Linked DNA regions of Homo sapiens: all the other regions are linked to region 5. The links are contacts of gene promoters, found by promoter capture Hi-C in blood cells and fetal thymus (Javierre and others, 2016). All regions are on one chromosome and are shown on one strand. Each heading gives the region's core, a stretch centred on a gene start or on the middle of the fragment in contact. The rest is flanking DNA. Distances are from core to core; before and after follow the strand shown. Region 1 overlaps STYX (serine/threonine/tyrosine interacting protein). Region 2 holds the start of STYX (serine/threonine/tyrosine interacting protein). Region 3 has its middle 4.1 kb from the start of ERO1A. Region 4 holds the start of TXNDC16 (thioredoxin domain containing 16). Region 5 holds the start of CNIH1 (cornichon family member 1). Region 6 overlaps DDHD1-DT (DDHD1 divergent transcript). Region 7 holds the start of PELI2 (pellino E3 ubiquitin protein ligase family member 2).

Evidence for each region. Contacts are between HindIII fragments. The CHiCAGO score rates a contact against its expected background, and 5 or more counts as called.
Region 1: a contact is called between a fragment that was not itself captured here and the fragment with the promoter of CNIH1 in region 5, in 1 of 17 cell types (M1 macrophages). The highest score is 5.8, in M1 macrophages.
Region 2: a contact is called between the fragment with the promoter of STYX here and the fragment with the promoter of CNIH1 in region 5, in 1 of 17 cell types (M1 macrophages). The highest score is 6.2, in M1 macrophages.
Region 3: a contact is called between a fragment that was not itself captured here and the fragment with the promoter of CNIH1 in region 5, in 3 of 17 cell types (M2 macrophages, M1 macrophages and neutrophils). The highest score is 9.1, in M2 macrophages.
Region 4: the fragment with the promoter of TXNDC16 here is called in contact with the fragment with the promoter of CNIH1 in region 5 in 1 of 17 cell types (neutrophils); the score reaches 6.3 in neutrophils.
Region 6: a contact is called between a fragment that was not itself captured here and the fragment with the promoter of CNIH1 in region 5, in 3 of 17 cell types (M1 macrophages, M2 macrophages and fetal thymus). The highest score is 9.0, in M1 macrophages.
Region 7: the fragment with the promoter of PELI2 here is called in contact with the fragment with the promoter of CNIH1 in region 5 in 1 of 17 cell types (non-activated CD4 T cells); the score reaches 7.1 in non-activated CD4 T cells.

Annotation. Positions count from the first base shown.
Region 1 is chr14:52,762,204-52,765,376 of GRCh38, reverse strand. The region is part of intron 9 of STYX (serine/threonine/tyrosine interacting protein); the gene reads right to left. Among named protein-coding and RNA genes, the nearest start is that of GNPNAT1, 28 kb to the left of the region's middle. The HindIII fragment of the contact is 1,746 bases long and covers 983-2,728 here.
Region 2 is chr14:52,728,464-52,731,423 of GRCh38, reverse strand. It overlaps STYX (serine/threonine/tyrosine interacting protein), which reads right to left and starts at 1,258. Exons shown (of 11, transcript NM_145251.4): 1 at 893-1,258. The coding sequence starts at 949. PSMC6 (proteasome 26S subunit, ATPase 6) reads right to left here. Exons shown (of 14, transcript NM_002806.5): 14 at 2,834-2,960. RefSeq lists silencers at 964-1,043, 1,114-1,573. The HindIII fragment of the contact is 7,384 bases long and covers 1-2,960 here.
Region 3 is chr14:52,698,122-52,701,229 of GRCh38, reverse strand. No RefSeq gene overlaps it. Among named protein-coding and RNA genes, the nearest start is that of ERO1A, 4.1 kb to the right of the region's middle. The HindIII fragment of the contact is 2,803 bases long and covers 124-2,926 here.
Region 4 is chr14:52,551,255-52,554,696 of GRCh38, reverse strand. It overlaps TXNDC16 (thioredoxin domain containing 16), which reads left to right and starts at 2,192. Exons shown (of 21, transcript NM_020784.3): 1 at 2,192-2,381. GPR137C (G protein-coupled receptor 137C) reads right to left here and starts at 1,861. Exons shown (of 7, transcript NM_001099652.2): 1 at 1,106-1,861. The coding sequence starts at 1,549. RefSeq lists silencers at 1,392-1,591, 1,602-1,671. The HindIII fragment of the contact is 4,024 bases long and covers 615-3,442 here.
Region 5 is chr14:54,439,796-54,443,122 of GRCh38, reverse strand. CNIH1 (cornichon family member 1) reads left to right here and starts at 1,749. Exons shown (of 5, transcript NM_005776.3): 1 at 1,749-1,876. The coding sequence starts at 1,796. RefSeq lists enhancers at 1,406-1,465, 1,342-2,140 and silencers at 1,546-1,815, 1,856-2,215, 2,226-2,275. The HindIII fragment of the contact is 1,439 bases long and covers 1,173-2,611 here.
Region 6 is chr14:53,155,477-53,158,851 of GRCh38, reverse strand. It overlaps DDHD1-DT (DDHD1 divergent transcript), which reads right to left. Exons shown (of 3, transcript NR_110062.1): 2 at 2,279-2,609; 3 at 1,324-1,690. Among named protein-coding and RNA genes, the nearest start is that of DDHD1-DT, 3.8 kb to the right of the region's middle. The HindIII fragment of the contact is 2,163 bases long and covers 752-2,914 here.
Region 7 is chr14:56,116,445-56,119,817 of GRCh38, reverse strand. PELI2 (pellino E3 ubiquitin protein ligase family member 2) reads right to left here and starts at 1,407. Exons shown (of 6, transcript NM_021255.3): 1 at 1,081-1,407. The coding sequence starts at 1,157. RefSeq lists silencers at 930-999, 1,290-1,549, 1,590-1,649 and an enhancer at 1,780-2,019. The HindIII fragment of the contact is 3,737 bases long and covers 1-3,373 here.

The DNA of each region.
Region 1 (3,173 bases), core at 606-3,105, 1.7 Mb after region 5:
GTGTGGTGGCATGTGCCTGTAATCCCAGCTAATCAGGAGGCTGAAGCGGAGAATCACTTGAACTCGGGAGGTGGAGATTGCAGTGAGCCTAGATTGTACCACTGCACTCATTCCAGCCTGGGCGACAGAGTGAGACTCCATCTCCAAAAAATAAAAAACAAACAAAAAATATTTAATATCAGGTCTGTGTACAAAATCACTAGGGAAAAAGTATTAAATACCTATTTTATATCTAGCCACTGTCATTCAAATATAAGGGCAAAAGAAAAATATTTTCCAATATGCAAAGGGATAGTTTCCATGGGAATATAGTTTCCATGAACTATTCTTAATAAAGTCCAAGAGTTTAATAAAGACACTGGAACAGGTAATAGGATTGGCTGAATCCTATTTAAATGTAGGATTAAGGGCTGGGCGCCGTGGCTCACGCCCGTAATCCCAGCACTTCGGGATGCTGAGGCGGGTGGATCACATGATCTCAGGAATTCGAGACCATCCTGGCCAACATGGCAAAACCCCGTCTCTACCAAAAATACAAAAATTAGCTGGATGTGGTGACATATGTCTGTAATCCCAGCTACTCGGGAGGCTGAGGTGTGTGAATCGCTTGAACCCAGGAGGCAAAGGTTGCAGTGAGCCGAGATCACACCACTGTACTCCAGCCTGGGCAAGAGTGTGAGACTCTAACTCAAAAAAAAAAAAAAAAAAAAGGAAAAGTAAATAAATAAAACCTTAAAAATTATGTAACAAACATAAACACACCAAAAAATTTTAAACTATAGCAGAAGGTTAAAAAAAGGATTCATTTAAAACAGAAAGCATAATATGAAATAATAATAGATAAGATTGTATCTGTCATTTTCAGTAAATGAAAGTGGGTTAAATTCACCTATTAGGAAACAATGATACCAAATCTAATAGCAAAACTCAATCCTAGACTACACTGAGGAAAAGCATCTAAAATCAAGTGATTTAGAAAGCTTGAAGGAAAAGGAATGGGAAAACTCAAAAGGTAGCAAGCGAACAGAAAGAGTAGGATTCACAATATTAAACGAGGTTAACTGCAAGGTAAAATAACCGAAATTTGTCCAGGCACAGTGGCTCACACCTGTAATCCCAGCACTTTGGGAGGCCGAGGTGGGAGGATCATGAGGTCAGGAGTTCGAGACCAGCCTGGCCAACATGGTGAAACCCCGTCTCTACTAAAAATACAAAAATTAGCCGGGCGTGGTGATGCATGCCTGTAATCCCAGCTACTTGGGAGGCTGAGGCAGGAGAATCACTTGAACCCAGGAGGCAGAGGTTGCAGTGAGCCGAGATCGCACCACTGCACTCCAGCCTGGGCCACAGAGCAAGACTCTGTCTCAACAACAACAACAAAAAACCCTGAAATTTAAACAGGGTACAACTAAAATAAAAACCTAACTTGAATTTTTATGTACCAAATAGTTAAGTACAGAAAAAAACTTGCAGAACCAAAAAAGGGGAAATAAAGAAAAAATAAACACAATATAGTAAAAGATTTCAATTCACTGATTTCAGCCCAAGACAGATCAAGTGGACAAATACATTTAACTTTATCCCCTGAAAACAGAATGCATCTTCTTTTCAAATGCCCATAAAATTCATGAAAACAACTACATATTAAACCACAAAGAAAACATCAAAAAATACAAGTACTACAAAACATTCTGTGATTACAATGTAATAAAACTAAATATGAACAAAAATAAAAAATTTAAAACCCAGTCACCTATACAATAAAAAAAATCTCAACACATATTAGATAAAAAATGAAACCAAAACTGAAATCACAGAATATCAAGCTATAACATAAAAATAATGCAGATGAGAATCTGCAGCATGCGACTAACACAATGCAAAGAGGATAATTAATAGCCTTGAATTTTTGAAAGAATAAAAAGAAACCAAGTTTTCAACTCAGGAAATTCACAACAGCAGCAGCAAACAACACTAAAGCAAAGTACCAAGGAAGCAGAAATTAGAATACAGAAAAACAACATGGACTAACCAGATGAAGAAAAAAAATAATAGAACCAAAAGATATTAAAGTACAAGATATTATTTTCCTTAATTCTATGTAGAACTCTTATGAAATCAATGATTACACAGAAGATCATAAATACATCCAAAGTGACCTGAGGGGTATCAGAAAATCAAACCAGGCCAGGAGCAGTGGCTCACATCTGTAACCCCAGCACTCTGGGGGCCGAGGCGGGCGGATCACCAGAGGTTAGGAGTTTGAGACCAGCCTGGCCAATGTGGTGAAACCTCGTCTCTACTGAAAATACAAAATTAGCCAGTTGTGGTGGCAGGCACCTGTAAATCCCAGCTATTCTGGAGGCTGAGGCAGCAGAATCACTTGAACCCAGGTGGCAGAGGTTGCAGTGAGTTGAGATTGCACCACTGCAGTCCAGCCTGGGCAACAGAGCAGAAGACTCTGCCTCAAAAAAAAAAAAAAAAAAAAAAAAAAGAAAGAAAGAAAGAAAGAAAGAAAAGAAAAAATCAAACCGATACACCAAATGAAGAATGTTGTCTGAGAACTGGTCTATTGTCAAAATATATGAATGAATGAAATAATGAATAACTGAATTAGATAAAACATTATGGTCAGATATTTCACAGGTGCCATATACTAATGCATTAAGAGACAAGTAACTCCAATCTAATTTAAATTGATCCATGGCACAAAGAGAAATGGAAAGCTTCCACTAAAAAATGAGAACACTGTGACAGAGATAGTAAAACCAGAAAAGGATAGTACAGAAAAAAAAAAGAAAGACAAACCAATTTACTATTTAACTGATTCCAAAATCCTGAACAAAAAGATTAGCAAATACAATCCAGCAATACATTAACAGAACAGTCTATCATAACCAAGTGGGATCCATTGCTGGACCAAAAGGATGATTCAATATTAGGAAATCCAATCTAATGTGATCCAGTAACTCAAGTCACCATATTAACGGTTCAAAAACTAGAACTAGCCATTCCATAAGCACCTTAAAAAAGAAAACTTCAAACTTCTAAAGGACATATCAGAATTTGGTATAAAATAAAAATGATATTTCAAATCGGTAGGCTATAAATAGATTTCCATAATATAAAAAGAGCTCTTACAAACCGGTGAGAGGAACACCAACAAATGATCA
Region 2 (2,960 bases), core at 9-2,508, 1.7 Mb after region 5:
AATGAAGATATTCAATAGAATAAATATTCGGAATAAATTGAATGGTCTCCTAAAAATAGGGCTTTATTTTTCCCAACTACTTTAAAGGTATTTTTAACTAGCGATGTTAGATTTTCTTTCTTAATCCTACTAAAGTATAGCTGAGTATCTTCGTCTTGTTAATTTAGCCTCCAGAAAATTCTAATTTAGTAGTCTGCAATGCCGTAAAATGTTAAACTAGCAACAGATGAAAAAAAATCCGAGTAGAAACAGCAGGCAGGGATCTAAGGTGGAGTAAAAATAGCCACAAATTAGAAACCAGGAGAAAAGGTATATAGTATTTTACTTTCAATATTAATTTTCCTCCAAAGGTCAAGATTTCTGATTAAGAGTTCTCAGATTAAGATGAGCTAGCTTTGAGACACTTTGTTGTGCGGGTCATAGCTTTGTCTAAAAACAAACAAAAAACTTTGGGAAACTTTTCGAAGGCGCGCTTCCAAACTTCAGGCGCCGAGTCTATTTCACATGTGGGGCCATGTGTCCCACAAGTGAATCGTTTACACCACAGATATTCCTCAAAAGGAGACTAAACCAACTTCGCTCTCTTGTTACTTTGACAATAAAAGAGGAACCTTACTCCAGGTCAGTCCTGGATGCCAAGCCTAGGGACTAAGGGATTGCTTTTCCTCTTCTCAAATGTAAGTACACCAGACGCTGCCCCTCCGCGGGGTCTGGAGAGGACGAGCAACTCAGTGGGGATTGGAGCCGACCGCTCGGCTTCAGAGGTCCCGGGACGCCCTTAGGAGGCAGGGCGCCCGTACAGGTGGCGGCTAAGACGGTTGGGGACTGGGGTCGCCCCTCGGCCGGAGCCACAGGGAGAGGCCTGTGCGTGGCAGCCACGGGAGCGACTCACCTCGGCGTCTTCCTTGCACTGTGGAAGGGAAGGGAACTCCAGCTTCACGTCCTCCATGGTGCTGGCCCGCGGGCTGGTGGGTGGGGTGGGAGAGTGTTACACAGCCGGCCGACCCTCGGGCTGGCTGCGGCGGCGGAAGGAAGGAGGGCCGGCGGAGCGGAGGGCTGACAGGAGGGCGGCGGGATTACAACTAACACACGCAGACTACAGGGTCCCAGTGACTCCAGCAGCGGCGGCGGCGAAGACAGGGAAGAGGAGGGTCGGGCGTCTTACACCCGGCCGCCATGCCGCTGCCGTCTCCCTCCCCCAGAGTCTCCGTACCCCTCAGGCCGCCCAGGATCCAGCACAGGAACCAGCCCGACAACCGTCTCCCCGCCTCCTTCCCGCCCCCTCCACCCGCGTCGCCTCAGCCAATCCCAGCCCACGCTCGCCTTCTGCCCGCCCTCCGCCGCCGCCAGGTGTCAGCGCGCCACCGCCCTGCTCCGCCCCTTCGCTAGAGCGCAGACGCTTGGGGGTGGGGGGGGCGGAGCCTCGGATGCTGCTAGGCCACAGCTCACCCGGCGTGGAGGAGGCGGGGCTGCGGTGGGACAGGACGAGTGAAGGTCCTGGGAAAGGCAGTGGGGCGGTCCGAGCCAGCTCCGCCCTTTCCAGACAGGACGTAGAGCCCTTCTTTAACATAAGAACAAACAGGCAAAACAGGCTACCCACCAGTGGCATCCGAAAGGAAAGCTATAGTTTCTCCCCTCTCAAAATTCTGCGCAATCTATGCTGAGTTTATAACCAAATGACTAATAAATGAAGAGTTCAATTTAAAATCACGTGGTGCCATACAGAAAATAAAATACCCATCACCTTTAAGCAAAGAATTAAACGGCTCAATTTAAAATTTTTTAAAGTATTTTAAGAGTACTTGAAAATACAACTCAGTTTAGATTACCTAGAAAATATCAAGAATGGCAACTAGAAAAAAATCAGAAAAAGGAACTGATAGCTGACTCAGTAAATTGTATATAATACTGTAAAATTTCTTCCATTATTATATTTTGAAATAAAAATAATAAACCAGATGGCTTTCAATATCTTTTAAAAGGAGTTTGCCAGCCTGAGCAAAATAGTAAGACCCCCCTCTCTAAAAAACAATTTTAAAATTCCCTGGGTGTGGTGGCGTTATGCCTGTAAACCCATGGTGAAAAGATTTGGGCCGGGCGCGGAGGCTCACGCCTGTAATCCCAGCACTTTGGGCGGCTGAGGCGTGTGGATCACCTGAGGTCGGGAGTTTGAGACCAGCCTGACCAACATGGAGAAACCCCGTCTCTACTAAAAATACAAAAATTAGCTGGGTGTGGTGGCGCATGCCAGTAATCGCAGCTACTTAGAAGGCTGAGGCAGGAGAACCGCTTAAATCCGGGAGGCGGAGGTTGCAATGAGCTGAGATAGTGCAATGGCACTACAGCCTGGGCAACAAGAGCGAAACTCCATCTCAAAAAAAATCAAAAATAAAAAAAGAAAGAAAGGATTTGTACACCAAATTGATTCTTTAAAAAACCACCGCCAGCACAAAGGTAAAAGGCAAGATAGTCACTCCTTAACTAAATGCAAATTATAAGTGAAAAGATCACATAGATATTTGACTTAAACCTCCCCCTACATTCTACTTTTTGTCACATAAAATGCACTGCCAACACATAGAAATAGAACTGTACAATAATTTGAGTATGAGATGGCTAACTTGACCACTCCATTTTCTATTTTAACTGTTCATCTTCTAAAATTATAAAAAGGCACATAATATCCTGCTAGGAAGTTTTTAATTTGAAGAATTATTGTATAATTAGCTAGGTCATGTATTTTTGGTTCTTTAGTGTTTATGAAACTGAAGTTGTCTTTTCTTTTCACCAGCATCTTTAATAATTATTGATGCCCAATGATGATTCCTTTGTGTACTTTGTTATAGCTTTTATTGCCAGATGATATAAGAATCATGTATAGGTAACAGAAATCATGTTTTGAACATTTCTGACACTCCTACATCCCCTACATCATACACTCTTAGCCAGGTATCCATACA
Region 3 (3,108 bases), core at 276-2,775, 1.7 Mb after region 5:
TAAAAATATCAGCACTAAACCCATTAGGTTTTTACTTAGCCTTTCTTTGTACTAATTTATTTCCTTTAAATTGTTTTCTTCCAGTCTATTCAATGACAGAAATTGTATGGGTACTGAGAAGCTTCCCACAGAAATCCCCACATACCATTTTGAGACACTGGACTCAAGCCATTTCCTGCTTTGGTCATAAAAAAAAAAATAGTCGCTGTTATTTACACAGTAATCAGAATTCCATCAGGAAATGCTGTGTGCATTAAATCTAAGTCATGTTATTGTTATAATCACTAGTATTAGAAAAACAAGTTTGTGACCTTGTTCATCTCTAAAAAATTTAATGTTGTTTAGCAAAGTTGTAATGAATGGGAAGTTGGGCTTTCAGAAATCAAAGGTTGATCTATGTACCCTGTGGGTGCTCTTTAAATAGTTAATGAATGACTAATCAGTGATTTCATGGCCTCTAACACAGGTGAGACGATTGCCTGAGCAGGTATATTTGAAGAAGCAAACTCATGCAAAGGGAGTTTCCTTCTGGCCTGAAAGATTCTCATGGACACTTCAGTGATATTCACATCACACACATAAAACTGTATTTACTTATTCTAAAATCGCTTACAAATCTGAAACAAAACATTATAATTATCTAGACAATAAGGTAAAAAAAGTGGATACTTTTTCTAAGTTTGCTAGAAATTTATTCTGGGAAAGAGTTTGAGTTTTATGGAAAATAATTTCTATCATGAGAACACTGACATTTTTAAGCTCCCCCAGGTTACAGGTCATTGCATTAGGGTAAAATGTTAAGCTGATTCATATTCAGATTGCTTCCTTCTAAAATCATAGGCTTTATTAATTTCCTCTTTTCTTATTGTGTTTCTCATTTTTGATGGCCTAATCTTCATTTATTAGTACTGTGGCCAGTGAAAGATTTTCATTTATTCCACGAACATGTACAAAGACAAGATCCTTGTTAAGGATCTCTGGGAGTCTCAGGGACATTTGAAACACAATCCCTGCTCAAGAAGTTTAAAGATGTTACAATTCAGTGAAGAAATATGAAGTAGAAAATATCATAAAAGATTATATACTAATGCTGAAATGAACATGGGAGTGCAGATATTTCTTTGACATACAAATTTTATTTTTATTTTTAAGACAGAGTCTCGCTCTGTCACCCAGGCTGGAGTACAATGGCATGATCTCAGCTCACTGCAACCTCCGCCTCCCAGGTTCTAGAAATTCTCTCACCTCAGCCTCCCGTGTAGCTGAGACTACAGGCACACACCACCATGCCTGGCTAATTTTTTGTATTTTTAGTGTAGACGGGGTTTCACCATGTTGGTCCGGCTGGTCTTGAACTCCTGACCTCAAATGATCTGCCCGCCTCAGCTTCCCAAAGTGCTGGGTCAGGCGTGAGCCACCATGCCCAGTCTGACACGCCAATTTTAATACCTTTGTATATACACCCAGAAGTGGGATTGCTGGATCATATGGTAATTCTATTTTTAGTTGTGTGTGTGTTTTTTTTTTGTCTGCTTTGTTTTGTGAGATGGAGTCTCGCTCTGTTGCCCAGGCTGGAGTGCAGTGGCGCGATCTCGGTTCACTGTAACCTCTGTCTTCCAGGTGCAAGCAATTCTCCTGCCTTAGCCTCCAGAGTAGCTGGGACTACAGGCACGTGCTGCCACGCCCAGCTAATTTTTGTATTTTTAGTAGGGACGGGGTTTCACCGTGTTAGCCAGGATGGTCTCCATCTCCTGGCCTCATGATCTGCCTGCCTCGGCCTCCCAAAGTGCTGGGATTACAGGTGTGAGCCACCGTGCCCGGCCTATTTTTAGTTTTTTGAGGAACCTCCATACTATTTTTCAAAATGGCTGTACTAATTTACATTCCCACCAACAGTGTACAAGTGTTTCCATTTTTCCACATCCTTTCCAGCACCTGTTATCATTCATCATTTTGGCAATAGCCATTCTAACAGGTGTAAGGTGACATCTCATTGTGTCTTTAATTTGCATTTCCCTGATGATTAGAGATATTAAGCATTTTTTTCCTATACCTGTTGGCTATTTGTATGTCTTTTTTTGAAAAATAACTGTTCAGAACCTTTGCTGCTTTTTAAAAATCAGACTATTTTCATAACATTGATTTGTTTCTTATACTCCCATGTTCATTTCTGCATTATTTACAATAGCCAAGATATAGGAACAACCTAAGTGTTCATCGACAGATGAATGGATAAAGAGAATCTTGTATATATATGCCTACTATACAGCCATAAAGAAGGAAATTATTCCCAGTACTTTGGGAGGCCGAGGCGGGCGGATCACGAGGTCAGGAGATCGAGACCATCCTGGCTAACATGGTGAAATCCCGTGTCTACTAAAAATACAAAAAAATTAGCCGGGAGTGGTGGCGGGCGCGCCTGTAGTCCCAGCTACTTGGGAGGCTGAGGCAGGAGAATGGCGTGAACCCGGGAGGCGGAGCTTGCAGTGAGCGAGATCGTGCCACTGCACTCCAGGCTGGGTGACAGAGCGAGACTCCGTCTCAAAAAAAAAAAAAAAAAGGAAATTCTGTAATTTGTGACAATATGGATTAACCTAGAGGCCATGATACCAAGTGAAATAAGCCAGGCACAAGAAAACAATTACCACATAATCTCACTTACATGTGGAATCTAAAAAAGTTTATCTCATAGAAACAGTAGAAAGGTAGTCACCAGAGGCCGGTGGGCAGGGAGGATGGGGAAAGGGGAGATGTTGGTCAAAGTGCAAAGTTTCAGTTAGACTGCAGGAATAAGTTTTAGTGATCTAATGCACTGCATGGTGACCACAGTTAATAAGAATTGCAAAATTGCTAAAAGAATAATTTTTTAATGTTCTCATCAATGAAAAATGAAAAGTTGGTGAGGCAATGTATCTGTTAATAAGCTTTATTTAATCTTTCTACAATGTATGCATAGATCAAAACATCCCATTGTATCCTATAAATATACACAATTATTATTTGTCAATTAAATATTTTTTAAAAAGTACATACTAAGTTCCATGGATGTCTCTCCAAGTGTAGGAACTGGACCTTATACATCTTTGTATCCCAAATGTCAAGCTCAGC
Region 4 (3,442 bases), core at 943-3,442, 1.9 Mb after region 5:
CATTAATTCCATCACCTCCAAAAAAGCCTTTGAGAGGATTAGCTGCATAGGCCAATATTATTCTATATTAGTCTGTATTAAGCATATGATGTCACCTTGCTTCCTCCCCTCCTCAAGCTTTTCTTTTGGTGGGAAGGAGGACTTTTTTGGGGGAAAGTCTTAAAATATTATGGCTTAAATACCACAAGCTGACACACATGATTGACAACCTTACACTCCCAAACCTGTTTGAAATGGGTCAAATACCTAAGCGCTGCAGAACAATGCAATCCAACCAGCAATTCCCCATAAAAGAGAAAGGGGGTGTGATTAGGTTCCAGATATTAAGCAAGTTATTGCAAAAACAGTTTGGTGGTTTTGTTTCTGCAATAGGCACAGGTTAAGCTAGTATTTTTTTCTCTTAATTAGCTCCAAAAAAGACTATGCTAATAGGAGGTAGGATAAACCGCTAAAGCACGAAGCAACTGGGGCAAACATTAAGGGCTTTATGGAGGTCCTTATCCTGATCCTCAGCATTGGTTATTGATCATCAACCCTGCTGGGGAACTATCGAACGAAATTTATGTGAGGCTTATCGAGCCACAGGAAAGGAGATGCAGGAGGGAATATAAGCTTCTAATAAAAGAAACGCAGCAACAATAGCAGAGGAACAGCTCTGCCTGGTGACGTAATGGCTGGCAGCAGTCCAGCTTCAGCAGAGCTGCTGCTACCTCAGCATCCAACCTCCCTCAACACAGTCCGGCTTCGGCAGAGCCACCGGGGCTGCTACTTCTTGCGATGCCACTTTGTTGGTGCCACCAACGCCTTACCTCGGAGGGCCAGAACACCGAACAAAGGGTTCGTTCCGTTGCTGTTTTAAGTTGTCAGACACACACACTCACTCACTCACCCCCTAGCCCGAACCCCTCAGTAATCAAGCCAATCAGCCACTTAAGTTTAAGGCGAAAACACTGGCTCACACTCCAGGTGTGCCTCAGTTTCCCCAGGCTGGTTTCCAGTCCGCCTCTCGCTGCCCACCCCCCGCCCCCGCTGGTCCTCAGCGGGAGTTGATCCCGGCGGCCCCGCGCACCCGCCCGGGCCCCGCATGCCGGCCCTCCCGCCTTACCTCCGCCAGGTAGAGGTTGAGGAGACAGAGCGTGGAGAACTGGAGACAGGAGGGGAAGCAGTAGAGCAGCCAGTGGGGGAAGAAGTGCAGGTGAGCGGGCGGCCGGAGCAAGGGCAGGGAGCCGCTGAGCGAGAAGGCGGCGGAGAAGAGGGTGGTCCTGAGCGCTGCCCACAGGAGACAGAGGAAGAGGCAGAGGCTCTGGTAACTCAGCCGCCGCTCGCGGTACAGGAGCAGCCGCCACAGCTGCAGGTAGGCAAAGGCGAACAGCGCGGCGTAGAGCAGGGCGTGCAGGACGCTCAGCGCCAACTGCACGGAGCCCGGCACCGCGGCGCCTGAGGCTGCAGCGACGGCGCCTCCGCCTCCGCTGCCCCCGCCGGGCGTGGAGGGCTCGCGGCCGGCTGCGGGGGCGGCAGCGGCCGCCGGACCCGGCACGGACACCCTCATGAGGGGGCTGGGGGCCGGGCGAGCGAGCGCGGGAAGGAAGGGGCTGGACTCGGAGCCGCCGTCGAAGGGGAGAAGGACTGCCCCCTTACCCCCCACCCACCCCAGCCTCTAACCCCAGGAAGCGCCGTGACGGGACCCGGAGTCCAGCGCAAAGCAGCCGCGGCTCCCCCGGACCCCGCCTCCTCTTTCCCCCCACCCCCCGGGGGTCTCGGCTCCTCCTGCTGCGGCTCGGCTCCGTAGCTGCAAAAAACAACTCTCGGCTGGAGACAATCAGCTGAGAAACCCGAGCATTTGAGGCGCTCGCTCCGCACTGTGGGCTCGCGCCGATTGGCCCAGGCAGGCACGCCCCCTGAGCGCCGCGCTCGGAAGGCCACGGGCCGCAGGACCCGTCGCTCGAGGGCCCCGAGATCTGATTGGGCGCGTAATTTCCCTACTTTCTCCCGCCCCTGTACTTCCCACCCACGCTGCTGATTGGCCCTGCTACTGCACCGCCCGTTCGCGCCGGCGGGAGGACTCTGTAATCGTCTGTCACTCTCGCTCCGCCCACCACGTTTCCCATTGGTTAGAGAGTGCCTCGCGTAGGGAGCACGAGGAGAAGGAGGAGCTTCGCAGGTTGTTTTTTCCCAGGAGGCCGACTCCGCCGAGTCGGTGGCGGCTGCAGGCTGGGAGGGAGAAGTGCTACGCCTTTGCAGGTTGGCGAAGTGGTTCCAGGCTACCCGGCTAGTCTGGCACGGCCCCGTCTTCTGCCTCCTCCTCCGTCGCGTGGCGGCGGGAACTGTTGGCCGCGCGGCCTCGGGAACGGCCCAGGTCCCCGCCCGCAGGTCCCGGGCAGGTAGGTGACAGCGCTGGCCCTTCAGGCTGTGGGCTCTGCCTGCAGACCCGGGGATTCAGACGAAGCAGCTTTCTGTAGCCAGGGCTGCACTGCACAGCTCCGGAGTCTGACTTAAGACACCCGTCTCTGGGGCACCGAAGGGCCTCACCTGGAGCCTCCTGAGGGCATTTTGCTTTCTCTTTTCGCTGCATGAACGGCGGGAAACACCGGAGCCCTTTGTGGGTCGAGGGGATGGAAAGGGGCGACGGGGAGAATCGGAGCTCTTAAGTGAAAGACCCTTTCCTCCCAAGGCCAAGGGAAATGTCTCTTAAGGAAGAGTAGTAGTAGTATCAGATGGATGTTGAAGCGATCTGTGAGCAGGGGGAAGCTGGTTCTTTCAAACGTAGAATTTGGGAAGATGCTCTGGGCTTAAGTTTTGGGAAAAAGGCAGAAACAGACTTGTAAGTATGATGATTGCCTGGAGAGGAAGTAGAATATTCTGTACTGTTTAAATTCCACATGTATCGAAGCCTTGGACCTGTGTATGGTAGATGGTGGCGCTATTCCTGGGCCTGAGAGAGAAAATACATGCTGTGTTACTGCTGTGAAGAACCGAGGAATAATCAGATCGACTAACGTATATTGGGCCGGCACATAGTTGTTGACTTTTTTTTTTCCTATTTGGAAATAAGATTAGCAAGTAGTGCAAAATTAAAAGGAAATAATTTGTTTTCTTTAGAATACACAGCACATTACGAATTCAGTATCCTTGTGAAAGACATTGCTACGTTTATTGGAGCAACAAAGACCCAGCTTTTCTTACCTCACCATCCTTTGTCCTATGCTTTTTTTTTTTTTTTTCCTTTTTTTCATGCAGGGTCTCGCTCTGTCGCCCAGGCTGTAGTGACAGTTCACTACAAACCTCCACCTCCTGGGCACAAGCAGTCCTCCCACCTCAGCCTCCCAAGTAGCTGGGACTACAGGCACTGGAGCCACCATGCCCGGCTGATTTTTTTTTTTTTTTTGGTAGAGACGAGGTTTCACTATATTGTCCAGGCTGGCCTTTGTCATATGCTTTGCCC
Region 5 (3,327 bases), core at 500-2,999:
CCCACGCCAACCCGGAACTCCAGCTGGCCCGCAAGCACCCTGCGCAGTCCCGGTTACCCCTCGCGCCTCTTCCTCTACACCTCCCTGCAAGCTGAGGGAGCTGGCTCTGGCCTTGGCCAGCCCAGAAAGGGGCTCCCATAGTGCAGCGGTGGGCTGAAGGGCTCCTCAAGTGCCGCCAAAGTGGCAGCCCAGGCAGAGGAGGCGCCGAGAGTGAGGGAGGGCTGTGAGGACTGCCAGCACGCTGTCACCTCTCAAGATCTCATTACCTTGTCCAGGCTGGTCTTGAATTCCTGAGCTCAAGTGATCCTCCTGTCTTGGCCTCCCAAAGTGTTAGGATTACAGGCATGAGCTGCTGTGCCTGGCCAAAAGTAACTTGATAATTTGCACACAGGTGCCACATAATCCTGGTGGTACAGGTTGTACTGTCCAATACACTAGCCACATTTTACTTAAAGTGATGTGAAATTTAAAGTTCAGTTCCTCAGTCATGCTAGACAATTTACAAGTGCCCAATGGCCACATGTGGCTAGTGGCTACTGTATTGGGCAATGTTTAGGTATCGAAAATTTTCACCATCACAGAAGGTTCTATTGCACAGCACTGGACAGACCCTGCTTCTAAACTATTCTACGCAATTTGCTAGGTGAACGATCTTTAATGCAAATCTAAACATGGTCTTCTTTTGCTCAAAAGCCTTCAATGATTTTCTCTTCCATCAGCAGCAATCAGTTAATAGAGTTTTTTTCTTTTAAAAATGGTTGTAATGGAAAGTTAAATCAATTTTGAATCAATTTTGTGTGTTAAGACCAGCATTAAAAACAAGTAGCAAAAGAGAGAAGGGAAAGTACTTATGGATCATTAGTACAGTTTTGTGAAATTTTTGTTTTGGTCATATCTATATTTCTTTGCCTCTATAACTAGATTTCCACCTCTTCATAACTTGATGTCTGTATGATATTCCACTGGGTTGCAATGAAAAAAATCTTTCTAGTTGTGTGTGGTGAGCAAAAAATTTGGGCTTATGGGATAAGAAGTCTGAGCTCCGTAATGAAGCATTATAAGGCCCTCTATGATCTGATCCCTTGCTAATTCATTTCTAAGTCTCACCACTGTCTTGCACTTAGGTTCCATTAATACAGAATTGCTGCTGGTTTCACCTGAGACACGAAGCTTTATTTTTCTTTTCTTTTTTCCATCTCTGTTGCGTTTCCTCATTCTGAACTGTTTCCTTGGACTGCCAGTTCTACCTTCTTTTTGCCTGGAGAACTTATCATCATCTAAGGCCAACTTAGGAAACACCTACAGCAGGAATCCTGCCTAAATGCTCCAGGGCGGGCTGGCTGTCCTTCTTTGACCTTTCAGAGCATCCCACACACATCCGTTTACGGGGTTATAATAACGTAATTATTTATTTAGGTGTTCATTTCCGGCACTATACTAAGTTCTTTCAGTGCAGGTACTATCTTATTCATCTTTGTATCTGAAGCGAGAAGCGCGGTACCTGTAACAAACTAGGCATTCATTCAATAAATATTTGTTGAAAGAATAAACGCAAGAAGGAAGGAAAAATCAATCAACAACTGTGCGGACAATGTCAGTGCAACGCAGACTCCGGCCATCAGAGGGCGCCGGGGCGGCTGGGCTGGTGCGCAGGCGCGCTGAGAGGGCTGGCGCCGCGGCGGTAGCGGTGGCGGTCGCGGCTGTGGCCGGGGGAAGTGAATGGTTTTACCCAGAGGGCCCTGCGCCGCCTTTCTCCGCTGGCAACGGCGCCGCTCCCCGCTCCTCCTCCCCAGCCATGGCGTTCACGTTCGCGGCCTTCTGCTACATGCTGGCGCTGCTGCTCACTGCCGCGCTCATCTTCTTCGCCATTTGGCACGTGAGTAGCTGGGGCTGGGGAAAGGAGGGCGAGGCGGCAACACAGCCTCTTTTCGCCCCGGGCCCGCGGTCCGGGCCGCCACGGCCGCCGGGGCTTTGCGCGTCGGGGATGCGGCCCGGCTGGCACGGGCCGCGCGGCGAGGGGTCTGGGGGCCGCGGGTACTGGAGGAGCCGGGGCGCGCAGTCGCCAGGTGGACGCGCCCGCGTTGCCTCGGCACAGGCCGCGCGCACCGCTACTCCTCCCCTACTGGATGGGGCGGCCGCGGTCCAGGCGGGCGCCCGCGGTTCCGCGCTGCGTTCGCACCGACCTCTGCCGGCCCGCGGCCCTGCATTCCCGGGGAGGATGTCGACAGCGCGGTGGGACGGCCGTAGTGTGAATGAAGTTTTCCGAATTTTTGTTAATACAGATTGACTTTCTTTTAGGGTTTCCACAGAACTGTGGCCAAAATGTAACCTACTTAGGGTGAATTTCCAACTCTACTTTTCAGCACTTGTTCGGTGCTCTTCAAATCAAATCACTTTTTTTCTCTTTTTCCAGATTGTTGTTTCCTGGTGAACTTTGATGCAAGTTCAATTGATTACTTTGTTGATTGCATGTGCGCGTTTCCCCCCCAAATCATACTTTGACCGCTGGAGTTTCAACAGGCAGCTTTCCAAGCCACCCTTATATTCAGGATTGCTTGATTTAGTAGAGGGAGTTTTCATTTGATTTTGAGATGCTCAGAAACCTTAAGCTTTTCTGGGGCAGTATTTATTTCTGTTACACACATCATCATCACTATTGCAGGGTGGAAGCACAGCCTTACTGGTCCCTCTAAGGAAAAAGTCGTAAGTTCCCTGTGACATAGTTCTACAGAGATAAGAATTTCTGTTGCTTTAGCACAAAATTAAAAGCCTTGAGAGCCTTCTGGAAATCATTCATTAAAAATTTATCTCATACTTGCTTCTCTTTTCCCCATATTCCAGTGCCTTCTGGAATGTTGCTTTTAATTTGAATGACCGCGTTCACTCTTACGTAGATTTTAAGTCAGGTTTCATCATGCCAGTAACAAGGATTTCTATGAAACATACGGAGGGGCAGAATGATTAAACAGCAGCAGCGTCTTGTGCAAAAAAGTCTCGAAAGTGGAAGCATATCACAAATCCATTCCTTTTTGCTAAGCAGTGTGATTATGTTTACAATTATTTTAGGACCTGACTGCTTATTGTAATCAGGAATACTTATGTAGGCTATTAACTGTGTCGGAAATAACTGCTACCTCAGAATGCTTGTCAGTAGGAGCAGTAATTTGAAGAGCATCTTCAGCCCTGCTTTGATGGAAGAACAATACCTAAGATAATTTGGGATACAGACTAGCTCAACCTTAGTAGGCCTCTGATGAAAATGTGTGGTTCCATGGCCGGGCGCGGTGGCTCACTCCTGTAATCCCAGCACTTTGGGAGGCCGAGGCG
Region 6 (3,375 bases), core at 584-3,083, 1.3 Mb after region 5:
AGTGAAGGAGTCACAAATGCAGGGCCATTGTTACTAATTTCTCATATTTAAAATATATGTTGCTGAATCTTGAAGATAAAATTTCTGAAGAATTTTGCTTTTCTACCATGCCATTTACATTTATTAATGGTATTATCCTAATGGCTATCTAGTATGGTTCAAGTAACCCAATGGGAGACCCACAAAAAGAATTTGGGAGCTTGTGAGTCTAGAATCATATATATGTATATATAATGATTATTATATGTATGATTATTATATATATATATATATTTTTTTTTTTTTTGAGATGGAGTTTCGCTCTTGTTGCCCAGGCTGGAGTGCAGTAGCATGATCTCGGCTCACTGCAACCTCTGCCTCCTGGGTTCATGTGATTCTCCTGCCTCAGTCTCCCGAGCAGCTGGGATTACAAGCACGCACCACCGCGACCAGTTAATTTTGTATTTTTAGTAGAGATGGGGTTTCACCATGTTGGGCAGGCTGGTCTCGAACTCCTGACCTTGTGATCCACCCGCCTTGGCCTCCCAAAGTGCTGGGATTACAGGCGTGAGCCACCGTACCCGGCCTAGAATCATATTTTATTCAAGCTGAAACTTTAAATGAGTTGCTGACTTATGATGTAAGGATAAACATACTTTTTTAAGCAGCAGTTGCAAAAACAGTAAATCAATTCTGCTGTTCAGTCTTTTAAATGCTCAGCAAATTACTGACAGTTACATTAGTGGAAATAAATCCTTATTGGAACAAAGCTTCTCTTTTCTTTCCTTTTTAACTTATATATGACAATACACATACGCAAGGTGCTGCCTCTAAGTCTTGCTCAGCACCATATTATGATTATCAATTACTTTTTATTGAAGGCTCATATGAGTCTGTGAACAAATATGTACTTTCAACTTACCTGTGGAGGTAGGAAAAAATCCTAGAGCGCAGAAGTCATTAAATACATCTACAATGGGTGCATAATGTGGGCCTCACAGCAGCCAATAGCTATGGCCCAACTCACTTTTCTATAATGAAAGGGCAGGAAGATGGCCAAATCTGTCTGATATAAACAAGCTGATGAGGATTTTGTGGCTGCCTCCACAGAGTATGCATCAATGTTGTATTGATTTATACTTTCTTTCATTTGAATATATACCTTCACCACCACTGACCTTTATTTCCAAAAGGAATAGAAAACATTTTTATAGGGTTTTGGTAAGTATGGTTTTGTGGATAGGCCTCTTATAAATCTTTAAATAAATGCATTTCATAATTCTAAATTTTAAGTGTAATTTCAGTTAAAAATAAAAACACAATAGCACTAGACAATAAATATTTGTTGAATGAATAAATGGAAGGATTAATGACTTTATTCATCATGAATCCCTACGTTATTTCTGCCCACCTTGCTTCCTTTGGATTGTAATTTGATTTTGTTTATTGATCTGTCTGTAGGGAGAGAATGACCCCATGGTAGTGATGCAGCTATAGTGGCATTACAATTATATTCCTCATAGGAATTTAAAAGTTAGCATTTTGGTTTTATTTATAGACACCACTAGACTGTGAATGCTTCACTGTAGAGCCTAGCACAGTGCCTGAAATGTCCAGCGAATGTTCCCTGCTTCAGTCTAGGTTGTTGTTTCATTTGGTCAGGGCATCAGATAAAACACTCTCATCTTTAAAAACCAGATAAGTAGTAATCCTAAAAATAAAAAGTGAAATAAAATTTAAGTTGTGGTGGATGGCTTATCGAACACGAGATACAGCAGATGGGGGCATGGTTATGTCTGCCCTCTTTCTTTCATTCTAAATAGGGGTCTTCCATCATACACTTTGGATGAAGCTATTTCAAGTGCAGGTGTGGGATGTTGGCTCAGGATAAATTACTTGGCATCAAGCATTCCCTAATGTTACAAACGTGAAGACAGGTTAAAATGAACAACATGGTGGCTTGTGCCTGTAATACTAGCTACTGGGGAGGCTGCAGCAGGAGGATTACTTGAGGCCAGGAGTTCAAGGCTGCAGTGAGCTAGGATTGGCCTACTATACTTCACCCGGGCAACAGCAAGACCCTATCTCTAAAATAATAAAATGAATAACAGGGACAAACTTTAAGAAAAGAAGAAAAGGGAAAGACAGCACACAATTGCACGAAAACATCTTTGAGACGCGGGAGGAGATGGCCGTTGTTACCAGATAGCTCTTGCCATATGCCTAATGGGGACAGGAAGGTGGTAGGATACACAGACGAGCTGTTTTAGTCTTTTGTAGTACAAACCAACTGGCTTACCTTTTTTTTTTTCTGCACACCAATAACTCCGTCAGGCTTGATTCCACATGCACCTGTTTCTTGCGGCAGCATGGCCCAGTAATGCCAGAAGTCTGAATCAATCACACTTATTTGCCTTATGTGAAAGAGGCCTTGTCTTGCGTAATTATTAAAATACAATGGAATGCTTTACATAGAGCCATGGAAGTTCAGATAATGCTGTGTCCATTGTACACACTAATGATGTAGAGTGGTGAGGAGCCACCTGACACCTATTCTGGCAGGTGGGGACTAGAATAGATGCCCCAACCCATCTCCCTCTGGTCAGGATCATATTACCTGAGAAGATGATCTAGAAAACAAAAGGAGAGCAGGAACAGGAGGCATTAGATAAAACATGACTTTTTAAAGCAGAAAAGTTGAGAAAAACAACATCATGACCTTTGCCTTGCTATGATGGCTAGGGAGTAAAAAGGAAATAAACACATGCAGTCACATGAAGTTAGATATTGTGCTCTCAAATATCTTCTGAGCACTGTCAGCCTGGGACCCAGTATATGGGTCTGCCATAGCCCAAGCTCACTTCCAAGGGGCAGAAGCAATCTCAGCCCACAAATGTTGATTGACATCTCCCCTCAACAAGGTCTAGACCAAGCTTGCCCAACCTGCAGCCCATGGGCCATATGCAGCCCAGGATGGCTTTGAATGTGGCCCAACACAAATTCATAAACTTTCTTAAAACAGTACGAGATTTTTTCGTGATTTTTTAAGCTCATCAGCTATCATCAGTGTTAGTGTATTTTATGTGTGACCCAAGACAATTCTTCTTCTTCCGATGTGGCCCAGGAAAGCCAAAAGATTACACACACCTGGCTCTAGACCAAGATAACCAGGTCAGCAGAGAATCTAGGATTCCCTTCTTCTGCCACCTGGGTTGTGTTGAGAATCAACATTTCCTTCAAAAATGATCACTCTACCTAAAAGGAGTGTGGCATTTCCCCAGTGAACCACAAGAGGATAATCTTCTCAAAATAACCAAATAAGCACACTTAAAAGTAATAGAAACATTCATTCAATGCAAAGCAGAAAGTACTTTTTTTTTTTTTCCAAGACGGAGT
Region 7 (3,373 bases), core at 158-2,657, 1.7 Mb before region 5:
AGGACAAAAGCGCGGGTTCCCAGAGCGACACATCCAAAGGAAAAAATAATCCTTTCTTCAACACTAAACCCAAGTTGTTCCTTCCCCCCAGTTTCCTGCACTTCCCCCTTCCCCCTCCCCTTTCACTGCCCACTATATCCAGTTTTAAGCCCGCAAAGCCTCTCTCCTGGCTTATTAAGGGTAAACAATAGAAATGTCACAAGGAAACTCAGGAAGTAGATGAAGTCTCTAATTGCTGCCGTTTAACGATTGTACATAATTACTATCTTCAAGATGCGGCTTTCACCAGCAGAGAGGGAGCCGAGGCGGGCGAGGCTGGCGAGCTCCCCGCAGCCGGGAGGGCATCAGCGAGGCCGGGACCGGGGGGATACGGCCCGCGCCCCGGTGCCAGGCCCCGAGCAGCCGCATCCTGTCCCTCCCCTCCAGAGCACTCCAAGCGGGGAGAAGCGGAGGGCCGGCCGGCCCGGGTCACACACAGTTCACTGCTCTCGGGCTGCGGCGGCCCGCGGCGGTCATCGGAACAATTTGCAAAGCGCAGCCGGGGATCCCACAGCCCGCGGCGGCCCAAGCTCACGGCGCCGCGCTCGGAGTTCGGGGGCGCGGGTACCACGGTCCGCGAGGGAGGTGGGAAGACGGGGCTCCGCGCCGGCCGGCCTCTCAGCTTCGGGAAGCGACCCCGCGAAGCGCCCGCGACCGCGGCGCCTCACATGGAGTCCCTGCCCGCCCTCCCCGGCCCGGACGCGGCGCGCGGGAAGTGGAGCCCCTGCCCCCGCCCCCACGATACGGCCGCGGACCCGGTGCCCGGCGCTGCCCCCGCTGGGTCGCCCGAGTTCTGGCCACTTCCTCCGCCGCGTCCTCCGCGCGGACAGCGCAGCCCGGCGTCCGCCGCAGCACCCCGAGCGCGCGCCGATGGGGCGCATCCCGCCCCCGCGCCGCCGTCCGGGCCCTGAGAGCCTCTCCTGCCGCCCCGAGCGCCCCGGCGGTCCCCAAAGAGCACCGAGCCACCCCGCCAGCCCCGCTCCAGGATGCGGGCGCTCCCCGCCCGCGCCGCTGCCCGGGACCAGGGACCCCAGGACTCACCCGAGCACCACCAGCTCCCCGTATTTCACTGGCTCCTTATTGGGGGCGCAGTGTTCCTCCTGGCCAGGGGAAAACATGGAGCCCCGCTCGGCCGCCGACGCCGCCGCCGACGCCGCCGCCTCCGCCGCGATCCCCGCCGAGTCCGCGCCGCCGCTACAATCCCATCCCGAGAACGGGGTGAGCGCGCCGGGGAAGGGCACGGCGGCGAAGGGGGCGCGGGGCGGCCAGTCCCGCTGCTGCTCCGTCGTGGCTGCGCGGCTGCTCCGCCTGACTCCCCGGAGCTCCGCGCGCCGCGGCCGCCCCGAGTCAGAGCCGGCAACAAATGGGACCCGGCAGCAGGGGGACCTGCCTGCGCTGAGCGCCGCCGCCGAAGCCCCGCGGGAGGGAGGGAAGGAGGAGGGAGCGGGCGCACGAGAGGCTGGGGCCGCGCGGGGGAGGCGGGGGCCAGCGCGCGGGCAGGTGGGAGCCGCCCCGCCCCACGCAGAGCCAGGCGCCCGCCCCCGGCCCGCGGGGCGCCCCCTCCCCCGGCGCGTGGGGCCGTCCGCGCCCACTCCCCGCCCCCCTCGGCCCGGCGGAGGCTCGGCCCCTGTGTTATGTAAACATAGAGTAAAAGGGAAAGGAAGTTCTTAAAGGAGCAGCTCTGTTTTTTTTCCTCACTTCCTTCCCCAAACTTAGAGCGCGGGGTCCTCAGCCCTCGCCGCCTGGTTCTTCAGCCGCGAAGGCCCGCGGGAGATCCTGGAAACGAGCGGCCGCGGTTCCCAAGCCCACGTTTTCCTGGCTGGAGTTCGATGGGATTAACTTCCTCTCCGAGTAGAATAGCGCTCTCTCGACGTCACTGTGTCCCGGCTTACAACTAGAGGTGTCGCACACACCCACTTGGGTGCCTCCCCTTCCAAAACCAAGCAGAAAGGCGTCTAGAAAATTAGAAGGTTTTGCCAGTTGGTGCTGGCGTAGAGGACGTTTCGAAGGCGCTTGGAGCACCCCACCGTTGCACTGGATGTAGCTACCCCGGCTTGTGGTCAATAGAGCTCCACCTGGCTTTTGGGGGGTGGCGGGGGGATGGGGGAAGAGTTGTTTTTTAATCCATACTTTATCCACTTTTCCTGTGCCTTCTTTCCATCCCCTAATACATACAAGGGGAAATTACCTGGGTGGACTTTTTAGTGAACGTAAATGTTCCTTTATGACCGTGATTTAATCAATGCACTGTTTGCTTTCTATTCTTTTTAAACTAGTTATTGCTATGGCTTTAAAATATCGTAGACTGTATAGTTTTACTGACTGCTGTTTTTCATCATACAGGATTTTATTGTTCTAACATTTATTAAGCACTCATAATGTGCTAGAAACTCTACATATTATTGCGAGTCATTGCCTCTCAACACTGTTAAATATTTAAAGAAATAAATACTGCAGAAGCTACCCTGTGTATAGTGACTGGTTGGCTATGACCCGAAGCAAAGGGCTAGAAAAAATAATAATTGCATCTGTAACCTTCCATTCCGCTGTGCTGCACCCCTTGTGTAACATTCTCTGACAGGTTATTACGGTAGTGACATGATGTTTCTGATAATTTTACTTCAGTTAGGAACTGATTTTTTTAATTGAGGTTTTAGAAATAAATTATTCCAAAGTAACTAAAGCCACACCACTGGTAAGCCAAAAATAAACTTTATTAAACAGTTAACTTATTTCAGCTAACTATAGAAATTCTGTATTTCAAATGAATATTAGTTATTCTGCATATATTACGTATTCTCTATATTTTTTATATGTAATAAAAAATCTGTTACAGTTTTAACCAGCACTCCTTCACTAAAGGGATAAATCATGTCTCCTCCCCAGTGTTGATGTAAATTTCTTTCAAATTTCTGCTGGATTAATGTTGTCTTCATGTACTCTGTGCATCTACTTACCACATAGATTGTATGACTATCAAAGATCTGTCAGAATCATTCTGCAGTTGCGCCGTCACGATTACGATGATGCCTGCCTCTGTCACCCTAGCTTCTCTAGGCCTCCTCTGTTGCTGCTTCTGCTCTCTAGGCTACCATTACCTCCTTCCTTCTCTCTTGGCCTGCTGTGCCTGTGTGCGTTGCATTGCATTATACTGTTCTGGCTGCATTTCCTCCTTGCTGTGCTTCGCATCTGCTCTTAGGAAGATAGAAAGAAATATGTATTAACCTCCTACTAAGTTCCCAGCACTAGGCTGAGAGTTTCCCATAGGATATCCCAATCTTCCAAGGCCCCCCCGTCTAGCTATCTGCCTGTGGCACCCCTGACTTCCAGAGGG